2 separate regions of the Homo sapiens genome follow, and region 1 is linked to region 2. The links are contacts of gene promoters, found by promoter capture Hi-C in human tissues and cell types (Jung and others, 2019). All regions are on one chromosome and are shown on one strand. Each heading gives the region's core, a stretch centred on a gene start or on the middle of the fragment in contact. The rest is flanking DNA. Distances are from core to core; before and after follow the strand shown. Region 1 has its middle 45 kb from the start of RMEL3. Region 2 holds the start of ACTBL2 (actin beta like 2).

Region 1 (6,386 bases), core at 148-2,647, 130 kb before region 2:
ATGACCCACTGGCCCACATCAAATGGTCTCTACCTCAGTCCTAGCCTTTTCTTGTTGTTCAGAATGAGTGCCAACTGTATTTGCTCTGCCCTTTTCTCAGAACAAGTAGAGGGCAAATGAGCAGGTATTCACAGTGGCGATTGTGGATTTAAAAATATTTATTCTTTTTTACTCTTTTGTGTTAAATTTTCTACAATACATATACATTACTTTTGTTATAAGAAAATAATAAAGTTGTTTTCATTTTTTTAATAAAGAAAAGAAATTTATTTTTTACAGTTTTGGAGGCTGGAAATTCCAGGGTCAAGGGGCTGCATCTGGAGGGTCTCCTGCTGGTGGGGACCTTCTGAAGAGTCCTGAGATGGTACAGTGCATCACATGGTGAGGGGACTTATGATAGGCAGCCACACTGGCTTTACAGTGGACTCACCCTCTTGATAACCAGTCCACTCCTGTGATAACCCATTCACATATCAACCCACTAATCCATTAATTCATGAATGGATCAATCAACTGGTGAAGACAGAGTCCACATAATCCAATCACCTCCCGAGTGTTCCACCTCTCAACACTGCTGCATTGGGGATCAAGCTTCCAACACATGAACTTTTGGGGGACACATTATTTATTTAAAAAATACTTTTATTTTAGTTTCAGAGGTACATGGGCAGGTTTATTGTATGGGTAAACTCGTGACTCAAGGGTTTGTGATGAAATAATCTGTACAGAAAGTTATTTTTAGTTAAAAAAAATGTGTAGCAACTCTTCCTTTTCTACGATAAAAAACAATGGCATGCATTCCTGATTCTTTTTTTATTTTTTTGAGATGGAATCTCACTTGGCTAGAGTGCAGTGGTGTGATCTTGGTTCACTGCAACCTCCACCTCCTGGGTTCAAGCGGTCCTCCTGCCTCAGCCTCCTGAGTAGCTGGGACTACAGGCAAGCACCACCCCGTCAGACTAATTTTTGTATTTTTAGTAGAGATGGTGTATCACCATATTGGTCAGGCTGGTCTCAAACTCCTGACCTCAGGTGATCTGCCTACCTTGGTATCCCAAAGTGCTGGGATTACAGGTGTGAGCCACCACGCCCAGCCACATTCCTGATTCTTAATGTTACAATTTCCATAACACAGAAATAATTTGGAGATAATGTCATTTAGCTACAATTAGGGAAGGGAAAACTTTTCAAGCTCTCTAAAGGAGGTAAATCTTATTTTTATAATTTTGCCTTGTTTAATTTTCATTGCCATGTGCATAGCTCCAGGGAAAAGTTATCTTTTTTGGACGTTTGAACTTCCTGAATACAGCCTAGTTGGAATAAATAGCTTTCATTGTTAGAGGGACCTCAGGGACTAAGTGTTACTGAGAATTTGAATATGTCCTCCAGTTTGGAAGACAGGCTATAATAAGGACAAGCCTACAGTCGTCTTGGGATCTCATTTGCAACACTTCCTTGGCATGCTTGCAGTTTGGACAGGGTTCACGTGCCAAGGTGTAGGATGAAAGATAACCAGACCCAAAATAAACCAGGCAGTAGGACAAGTTTTGAATTTTAATGCATATTAAAAATGTTGCCCTATCCTGGGGCTGCATTTCAAAGAGAGGTATAAAGATAAATGTACCTTTATATTTTTGGTATTTGAAGGTATTTGAAGGTCTGTTTTACTAGGAGATGTTACAGTGCAATGAAAGTTGACAACAGCTGCGCTGGACACAGCTACTTAGAGACTCAATCACCGTGAGTTTAGTTCTAAATTCATGGAATTCAGGGGTTAAGAGCATGGATTCTGAAACTAAACTGCCCGGATTTGACTCTGTCACTTATCAGCTGAGTGACTTTGGGAAAGCTACTTACCTTATCTGTACCTGTTTCTTCTTCTGTAAGTTAGGAATAGTAATAGACTCTTTCTATCCAGTTAGGAGGATTATTCTTTGGTGAACTCGGTGGATGAAGAATTGCTGGGGACTACAATACGGCAGAGGTTCTTTGGCTAAACTGGCAGTCATTCTCTATCCCTTTTTTTCCACAAGCTTTTCACCACAGAGGCAAGACAAGCTAACATTTACCCATTTGTTTGCCCTTGCAGCTGGTGATGGCTATTTACAGTTAGCCAATGAAACATAAGTGAAACTCTCCCCATGAAAGGGACAGTTGCAAGCTGCACTGCTTGCTCCTCTTCTTGCCTTGAACATATGTTATGTCTGGAACTGTGGCAGGCATTTATCAACCATGAGGTGACAAGCAAACAAGAAGCCAAGATAATCTCAGAGATGCCAATCTTAATATCCATGAACTGCTGAACCAGTGCCAAAACCTAAATATTACAGACTCCTTGCTTCAGTAGGTCAGGCTTTCTGTTACTTACAGTGGAAAGCATTCGTCTTAACTGATATGTATGGTAGATACTCCAGAGTTACCACTCTTTTTGTCCTAGTCCTGTGTTTCTCAAAATATGGTTTTTAGAACACCTGCCTTAAAATCACTTTGGGCTCCAGCCAGTGATTCAGAAATCTCTGAGAGTGGGGTCTTTGAATCTGTATGTGAAAGAAGTTCCCTAGGTGATTCTGATGCACATTCCAATTTGAGAAGTCTTAATCGGGTGTTGGCTCACTGAGTTCGTTTTTGTCGGGCAATCACTGAGCGTTTACTAAGGGCTAAGCACTGCATTAGGCATTGTGGATGCAAAGATGAACAAAACCACTTTGCTCTTGAGGGGCTTACATTCTGGTGGCAATTTCAGTACAAGGAGGTAATTGCTTTAAAAATAAAAAAAAGGTTAGCGAAGCAGTAGGCCATTCTGAGAGATCAAGAAACTACCTGGAAGGGAAGGCTATGTGAATTACACAGTTTCAATCAAATATATGTTTTTATCCCGCTAATTTGACTCCATAGATGTTCCTTTTCTGTATTTGTGAATGTAAACTTTTAAACAGCATTACAGCGATTTTGATAACATTTCGTGACCACATACTTTGTGGAGCTAATTCTGTAAAGCTACCTCAATGCCTTAATCAATTTTATCTTCTGGACAGTTAAAATTATCCATTATTTTCAATTTTCATTATGATTTTACCAGCATTATTTTTCTTTTTTTTTTTTAAAGTGAAAGCAAGTTTATTAAAAAAGTAAGGGAATAAAAGAATGGCTACTCCATATGCAGAGCAGCCCCGTGGGCTGCTGGTTGCACATTTTTATGGTATTATCTTGATTATATGCTAAATAAGGGGTGGATTTTTCATGCCTCCCCTTTTTAGACCATGGAGGGTAACTTTCTGATGTTGCCATGGCATTTGTAAACTGTCCTGGCACAGATGTGAGTGTAGCAATGAGGATGACCAGAGGTCACTGTCATTGCCATCTTGCCTTTGGTGGGTTTTAGCCGGCTTCTTGACTGCAACCTGTTTTATCAGCAAGGTTTTTATGACCTTATCTTGTGCTGACCTCCTATCTCACCTTGTGACTAAGAACACCTTAACCTCCTGGGAATGCAGCTTAGTAGGTCTCAGCCTCATTTTGTCCAGTTCCTATTCAAGATGGAGTTGCTCTGGTTTAAATACTTCTGACGGTTTTATGCAATTTTATCATATGTGTAGGTCTGTGTATCCACCACCACAGTTGAGATATGGAATAGTCCATCCCTACGAGCACCCCTGTGTTCTCCTGTCATGCTCACCTCTCACTGCCTCCCTCCACCTTCCATAGTGCCTGGCAACGACTAATCTGGTTTCCACTTATATAATTTTGTCAGTTGGGGAATGTTATTAAATGGAATCATACAGTAGGTAATCTTTTGGGATTGGCTTTTTAATTTAGCATAATCTCTGGAGATTCATCCAAGTTGTTGCTTGTATCAATCATTCATTTAAAAAAAATACTGAGTAGTATTTTGCACTATACCACACATACTGCAGTTTATTCACTCATTGAAGGACACTTGGGCTGTTTCCAGATTTCAGCTATTACTAATAAGGCTGCTATAAATATTCGTGTGTAGGTGTTGTGTGAATATAAGTTTTTATTTCTCTGGGATAAATGCCCAAGGATACAAATTATGGGTCATATGGTATTTTGCAGGTTTGGTTATATAAGAAACTGCCAAACTGTTTTCAGGGTGGCTGTACCATTCCATATTCCCAGCAATGTAGGAGTGACTCAGTTTCTCTGTATCATCCCCAGCATTTGGTGTTGTCACTAATTTTTATTCTGATAGATGTATATGTAGTGATATCCCATTATGATTTAAATTTGCATTTCCCTAATGACTAATGGCATTAGACTTATTTTCTTTCTTTCTTTCTTTATTTTACTATTATTTTTATTTTATTTTATTTTTTTTAATCATATTTTAAGTTTTAGGGTACATGTGCACAGTGTGCAGGTTAGTTACATATGTATACATGTGCCATGCTGGTGCACTGCACCCACTAACTCGTCATCTAGCATTAGGTATATCTCCCAGTGCTATCCCTCCCCCCTCCCCCCACCCCACAACAGTCCCCAGAGTGTGATATTCCCCTTCCTGTGTCCATGTGATCTCATTGTTCAATTACCACCTATGAGTGAGAATATGCGGTGTTTGGTTTTTTGTTCTTGTGATAGTTTACTGAGAATGATGATTTCCAATTTCATCCATGTCCCTAAAAAGGACATGAACTCATCATTTTTTATGGCTGCATGGTATTCCATGGTGTATATGTGCCACATTTTCTTAATCCAGTCTATCATTGTTGGACATTTGGGTTGGTTCCAAGTCTTTGCTATTGTGAATAATGCCGCAATAAACATATGTGTGCATGTGTCTTTACAGCAGCATGATTTATAGTCCTTTGGGTATATACCCAGTAATGGGATGGCTGGGTCAAATGGTGTTTCCAGTTCTAGATCCCTGAGGAATCACCACACTGACTTCCACAATGGTTGAACTAGTTTACAGTCCCACCAACAGTGTAAAAGTGTTCCTATTTCTCCACATCCTCTCCAGCACCTGTTGTTTCCTGACTTGTTAATGATTGCCATTCTAACTGGTGTGAGATGGTATCTCATTGTGGTTTTGATTTGCATTTCTCTGATGGCCAGTGATGATGAGCATTTTTTCATGTGTCTTTTGGCTGCATAAATGTCTTCTTTTGAGAAGTGTCTGTTCATGTCCCTCGCCCACTTTTTGATGGGGTTGTTTGTTTTTTTCTTGTAAATTTGTTTGAGTTCATTGTAGATTCTGGATATTAGCCCTTTGTCAGATGAATAGGTTGCGAAAATTTTCTCCCATTTTGTAGATTGCCTGTTCACTCTGATGGTAGTTTCTTTTGCTGTGCAGAAGCTCTTTAGTTTAATTAGATCCCATTTGTCAATTTTGGCTTTGGTTGCCATTGCTTTTGGTGTTTTAGACATGAAGTCCTTGCCCATGCCTATGTCCTGAATGGTAATGCCTAGGTTTTCTTCTAGGGTTTTTATGGTTTTAGGTCTAACATTTAAGTCTTTAATCCATCTTGAATTGATTTTTGTATAAGGTGTAAGGAAGGGATCCAGTTTCAGCTTTCTACATATGGCTAGCCAGTTTTCCCAGCACCATTTATTAAATAGGGAATGCTTTCCCCATTGCTTGTTTTTCTCAGGTTTGTCAAAGATCAGATAGTTGTAGATATGCGGCGTTATTTCTGAGGGCTCTGTTCTGTTCCATTGATCTATATCTCTGTTTTGGTACCAGTACCATGCTGTTTTGGTTACTGTGGCCTTGTAGTATAGTTTGAAGTCAGGTAGCGTGATGCCTCCAGCTTTGTTCTTTTGGCTTAGGATTGACTTGGTGATGCGGGCTCTTTTTTGGTTCCATATGAACTTTAAAGTAGTTTTTTCCAATTCTGTGAAGAAAGACATTGGTAGCTTGATGGGGATGGCATGAATCTGTAAATTACCTTGGGCAGTATGGCCATTTTCACAATATTGATTCTTCCTACCCATGAGCATGGAATGTTCTTCCATTTGTTTGTATCCTCTTTTATTTCCTTGAGCAGTGGTTTGTAGTTCTCCTTGAAGAGGTCCTTCACAACCCTTGTAAGTTGGATTCCTAGGTATTTTATTCTCTTTGAAGCAATTGTGAATGGGAGTTCACTCATGATTTGGCTCTCTGTTTGTCTGCTGCTGGTGTGTAAGAATGCTTGTGATTTTTGTACATTGATTTTGTATCCTGAGACTTTGCTGAAGTTGCTTATCAGCTTAAGGAGATTTTGGGCTGAGACAACGGGGTTTTCCAGATATACAATCATGTCGTCTGCAAACAGGGACAATTTGACTTCCTCTTTTCCTAATTGAATACCCTTTATTTCCTTCTCCTGCCTAATTGCCCTGGCCAGAACTTCCAACACTATGTTGAATAGGAGTGGTGAGAG
Region 2 (6,312 bases), core at 3,059-5,558:
TTCAAAATAAGAATTAATCACCATACCAGCCCCAATAATTAGTGATCATAATGCTGCCTGAGACACTTAAGAAAAGTTTTTGTGTTTAGTACAACTTGTTCTTTAAGCACAGTCTGGCATAGGACATTGAATTAATAATTGTGTAATGAGTGAACAAATATGGCAAAGTCCTTGTCACCCAAAGGATTATCCTTTGATTGCCTGGATAATGTAATACTCATATTTAGGCCCTCTGTATTACAGAATTGTGCATTGCATATCTAGATAGGGTATAGTTCAACCTGTATCCCAGGACTACTGTAGCTCACTATTGAAAAATAAGCACATTTATATGTTAGGAAAGAAGAGTAGAAGAGTGTCGGAACTGGCATTGGATCAGTCATGTTTTCAGAAAAATATTACCTGTGATTGGGAAATAACAGTGTGCAGGGAATTGTGATACAGCCCTGGCCTTATATTGCTACTCAGGAGGCATCACAGAGGGAGAATGAAAATCATTTACAGAGGTATGAAATTAATCTGAGAAGGCTGCTTCAGTGATGTCTCATCCTCAGAGGAAGATGGATGAAGCAAGTGTCTGGAGACCTTTCCTGTCCATGGAGCCTGTAATGTGCTGGGATTTTGAATTCTGTGGAGCTGTAATTCCTCTAGTTGGCTGTGCATTCAGATTTTTAGTGCTCATTCTAGACCCACTGCTCTGAGCCCAGGGCCAGGGACCCTATATTTATATAAAGTTCTCTAAATAACTTGGTTGATGAGCCAGGCTAATGATACATGAATAGCATGTTAATCGTATTACCTATGTAGATGTCATTCTTTGATTCTAAAATATAAAGTTGTGAAACAGGCTGTTTCTTCATTAAACTCATCCATAAGTCAGTCAATGTTGATAAAGAGAAGAATATCCCACAACTCTAGGTTTAAGTTTCTGGCATTTTACCAACTTGTTATCTAGAAATTGTAGATTTTATATATAATAAACTCTTAAATTACCACAGTAATTCAAGATTTATAATGCGTAGTTTGCATTATGGGGCTCATATTTTCACCTAATGTTGTGGGGCTCTATAGCTCACTCTCTTGTAAGTTCACATTACCTGTCCCATTTATAGTCTGTGGGTGGGAAGTCATATTTTTTTTTTTTTGGTAATTCAGAATGCAGGTCAGAATGTTTGTGAGAACTACTCACTCTGCAAATGGAATGCATTGCAGCATATAAATCCAAAATATTATGATTATTATTGTTGATGTTGTCTCTGCCTATTAATTACCTGAAGATCAGTTCATCCAGTAAAACCCAGCTTTAAAATTTAGATTATGAGACATCTATATAATGTTAAATGGCTAGCTATCCTTTTTTTAAAATTTGCCTTTTAATGTTTACATGATTAAATGTATGAGGTGCAAAATTGTAACATACAGATGAATAGGTCACACATATAAAAAGAGATGCTATCTGGATCATTCTCTAATTCTAAGGGAATGGTTGAGGAGAAATAACAGGAAATCTAAGTATACAAGTATGAAGCAATTTTAATGTACTGAAAGCAAGTTATATAAAATAAAGTGTTTTTGGAGATTAATTTTGGTTACATGCATTTTAAAGATTATGTTGTCAGATAAAGCCAATAAGGAATAATCAAATTATTTGAAAAGTATTACCTTAAACAAAAAATTCTTACTGATTCCATTTTAAAGATTTATAACATAAGTACAAGTTTCCCAACTAAGAAAAAAAGAGAAGTGATTCCTTCCTCCAGAGTACCTTATAATGCCTGAATAAGCAATCCAAATAAATATTTTAAATTTTCAGAAATTACCCTGAAAAATACAAATAATGCTGATATCCAAATATTCAGAAATCACTGCATAGATTGGAATAAACATACTGGTACTTAAAATTGGTTAATAAATCATCACTGGAGTAACTAAAATATTTTAGACATTATAGGAACATACATTGATATTTTCAAAGATGTTAGTATCTCAGAGACACTTTGCATAAATAAGTATTGCTAGTTACTGGACATAATAAAGTAGAATTATTCTAAAAGCTTTCCAAGGATAAAACTGTGTTAGTATACTGGTAGTAAAATGTATAATTAATAAAGATGCTGCAGCTATATTTTCCCACAGTGAAATCCTTGCACAAGAGAAGTATCTGTAATCCTGGTCTACAGAAATTATTTAAGATGTGCTATTACACTAAGAAATAGAAATAAAATTACCTCTGTCAAATTGTACCATAATGACATTAATTTGATATTATAATATCTATCTCTCTTAAGAATTAGACATTGTCTGTAGTTTTGGTATGAGAAGGTTCAGTAAGAAAGATATTAAAATATAATTTGACCAGCAGAACTCCACTATGAGCTGAAAATTTAGATGATTTATAAACATTAATGGAATGGTGGCTGTCTCATTATGCTTATTTAGTAAGGGAAACAATTAAAATATGTACCTAGTACAACGATGACTTTTGGGAGTAAAGAAATTCACATTAGCTGTTCAGATAGCTAGATACATCAGCATATTTCACAATATATTTTATTTCCCTGGTGCTTATGTATATATGGATATTATTGAACTTTATAATTCATTATCTCCATACAAAGAAGTAAACAAAACAAAGATACTTAACTAGTAAGACACGGCTGCTAAATGCATACGCACCTTTTTTTTTTAAACAAGTTTATACAGCCTGTTCTTGTTAAATATTTTAGCGAGAACTAAGTTTTAAAGCTTGATAATTATAGTTATCCATTCTGAAATGACATTTCTCGTGATTTTACTCCTTGTCACTTATATGTATTTAAGCTGGCCTACCTATCTTTGAACAGTATAGGCAAAGAAAAAGGAATATGGTATTAGAATTCACCTTCACTTGATGGAGAACCGGATGTGGTTATCTGGGTAAGAGCCCAGGTTACTTGGATGGAGAGATGGGTTTGCTGGTTTACACTAGGAAGAGTGACGTATTTACCTCGATTCTACTGAAAGCGGATAAAAGCAGTACCATCACTGTGACCTAGGAAAAGGGAAAATGTAAGCCCACTAATATGGAAGCCCATTCAGAAACATTTTCTGTGAACGATAGGAGGACCAGCCTCATCATATTCCTGCTTACTGATCCACATCTGCTGGAATGTGGACAGGCTGGCAAGGATGGAGCCCCCAATCCAAACAGAATACTTCCGCTCTGGGGGAGCTATGATCTTGATTTTCATGGTGCTGGGTGCCAGGGTTATGATTTCTTTCTGCATCCTGTCAGCAATGCCTGGGTACATGGTGCTCCCTCCAGATAACACGGTGTTGGCATAGAGATCCTTGCGAATATCCACATCGCACTTCATGATAGAGTTGAAGGTTGTCTCATGGATCCCACTGGACTCAATGCCCAGAAAGGAAGGCTGGAAAATGGCTTCAGGGCATCGGAAGCGTTCATTCCCAATGGTGATCACCTGCCCATCAGGAAGTTCATAGCTCCGTTCCGGTGAGGAGGATGCGGCTGCCCTGACCATCTCCTGCTCAAAGTCCAGGGCTACGTAGCACAGCTTCTCTTTGACATCTCGCACAATCTCCCGCTCAGCAGTGGTGGTGAAGTTATAGCCTCGCTCTGTCAGGATCTTCATGAGGTAATCAGTCAGGTCTCTCCCTGCCAGATCCAGGCGTAGAATGGCATGAGGCAGGGCATAACCTTCATAGATGGGCACGATGTGAGTGACCCCATCCCCAGAATCCATCACGATGCCTGTGGTCCGTCCTGAGGCATAGAGGGACAGCACAGCCTGGATGGCGACATACATGGCTGGTGTGTTGAAAGCCTCGAACATGATCTGAGTCATCTTTTCCCGGTTGATCTTGGGGTTCAGGGGTGCCTCGGTGAGGAGGATGGGATGCTCATCTGGTGCCACACGGAGCTCATTGTAGAATGTGTGGTACCAGATCTTTTCCATATCGTCCCAGTTGGTGACCACTCCATGCTCGATAGGATACTTCAGGGTCAGGACGCCTCTCTTGCTCTGAGCCTCATCTCCCACGTAGCAGTCCTTCTGGCCCATGCCTACCATAACGCCCTGGTGTCGAGGACGCCCTATCATGGAGGGGAACACAGCCCGGGGGGCATCGTCACCACCAAAGCCTGCCTTGCACATCCCTGACCCATTATCCACTACCAAGGCAGACAGCTCATTGTCAGTCATGGTGCTGGCTGAGATCTTCCAGACGAGTGAACAGGACAAGTGAATAGACAGTGAGTAAGAGAAAGTGAACAGGCCTAAAACACTCCAGAAATGCTTTCAGACACGGGAGGCTGCACCGGGACCACAGGTATTTAAAGGAACACACTGACTCCGCCCATGTCCTACTCCACCAGTTCCCAGCATTTCTGGATGAGGTCATCTCTGAGGTATTAATGATGGTGATGATTACATAAACAATTAGATCTTTCTACATAAAGAGAAAATTGGCTGCCAAGTGGTCAAATCTCAGGTTCCTGTAATTAGGCAACCCACACATGACCGTCAGCCTGCCTGGTGAGGTCTCTAGATAACTATGATGATGCAGTGGGGGATATAAAAGCAAGATGAAAGAAAGCTGGTGCTAGGTATGGCAACACTGCTGGGAGGAAGGCTCCCTCCTTAGCGTCCCTGAGGATTCACTTTTCCTACACTAGCTTACCTTTTCATTCTTAAGATACTGTTCTGATGAGGGGTCTTACCCTGCAATCTTCACTTTTTCAAGATTTTTGTTTCCATTAGATTCCTAATCCCACAGGGTGTCATCATCGTAGAGACTGTTTTAGTAAATGAAAATAATAAATGGCTAAGGATGGCCTGATGGCTGTAATTACAATGCACTTGTGTCAAGCAAAATGTAGAGATATTTAATAGACTTCTAATCCATCAGAGATCAAGCGAAAGGAATAGAATGATTGCTAAAGTTAACCCATATAGATACTTTTTTCTGATATAAATTTCTAACAACCAAATTTCATTAAACATTTACTGTGTCTAGACATTGTTCATAGAACCAGGTTCATTGGGTCCATGTTAATTGTATAATGACTGAATGTCAACTATTTTGCATGATTTATTAAGATGCAGGTTATAAAAATTTATTTATTTGCAACAACTCTTGAGTTCTGCAACAATGGACAAAATGAAGTGATAAGACAAATTTGAAAAATTATATATTTAAACTAATCCTTAAAACATTTTGATCTTCAAGATACATATACTATATTATAACATTAAACCTCTATGTAGTTATTAAAATCTATACAATTAGAATTATACTAGCTTTCCTTCCATTTCAAGATATATTACACCCTGATCACTTCATAGCAACAATTTGTTTGGGTTCCATGTTTCATATAGAAATACAGACTACCTGAAAAGATGTGTATGATGGTAAAATGTAGGACATCAGCAATGTGTTACAGAGAAATAGCATTTAAGAAAGCTCATTACTTCTGCTCCCCTATGTGTTAGGCGAATAGAATATAATTATCTTTGTGAGCTCTTGTAAAGCAAAGAAATTTTCCATGTCTACATCTGAGTTCTCCAAAATAATCTTTATTTGGGTTCATCATTCATTCATTTACCCAATAAAGCTTGCTTTGTAAGAGGTAGCACAGCCCCTATTTACTGGACAAAAAACACCCTCCAGCTCAAGGCCAGGAGAACTAACCTGAGTCTTTGCCCAGTGAGCCTCTTGGAGAGTCATGGTGTAGCATCAAGCTGTGAGCATCCAGCCCTCTTCTTTGTCTATAGCTTGATATAGATTTATTTTATCCAGTGCTGTAATATGCCTTCAAAACCTTTCTGGTGACAATCAGTCATGGCAGAATGTATGTTTCATCACAAGATCCATGGTTTTGCTTTAGGGCTCACCAAAACAGTCCTTTCCTTTAATCTTTTCTGTAACTGCAAAATTCCTTCTTCAACAGTGTTAAAAACCTTCACACTGAATGGTTTTATGAACTTCCTTGTTATGTAGTACAACCAAGCTTTTGATTAAAACAACATTTTATTGCTATAGGATGGTGCTTCTGGGAATTTTTTAAAATCCCATAACAAACTACATGCACATTTTACAAAATGGAAAAAATGAAATACACATTGTATTTAGCACAAGTCCCCATTTATGAATGCTCCGGTCTGGAATATAAAACAAAGCCAAGTTGGTGGAAATGTTAGTGGAGGAGCCCACATAGTACCAAGTGCAGCCTTAGATCCTACACTTACTAGAGTGCTGTCCTTAGAATCACCTTCAACTAAGGGATATTTGGTACTGAGTCCACACAGC

Evidence for each region. The method cuts DNA at HindIII sites, captures the fragments that hold promoters and counts their contacts. A contact is called where the count stands out against the background at its distance.
Region 1: a fragment that was not itself captured here is called in contact with the fragment with the promoter of ACTBL2 in region 2 in 2 of the 25 tissues and cell types used here (dorsolateral prefrontal cortex and mesenchymal stem cells).

The regions. Positions count from the first base shown.
Region 1 is chr5:57,347,170-57,353,555 of GRCh38, forward strand. No RefSeq gene overlaps it. Among named protein-coding and RNA genes, the nearest start is that of RMEL3, 45 kb to the right of the region's middle. The HindIII fragment of the contact is 5,938 bases long and covers 1-4,366 here.
Region 2 is chr5:57,478,503-57,484,814 of GRCh38, forward strand. ACTBL2 (actin beta like 2) reads right to left here and starts at 4,309. Exons shown (of 1, transcript NM_001017992.4): 1 at 1,516-4,309. The coding sequence starts at 4,205. The coding sequence ends at 3,075. The region is part of intron 1 of RMEL3 (enriched in melanoma 3); the gene reads left to right. The HindIII fragment of the contact is 3,416 bases long and covers 2,400-5,815 here.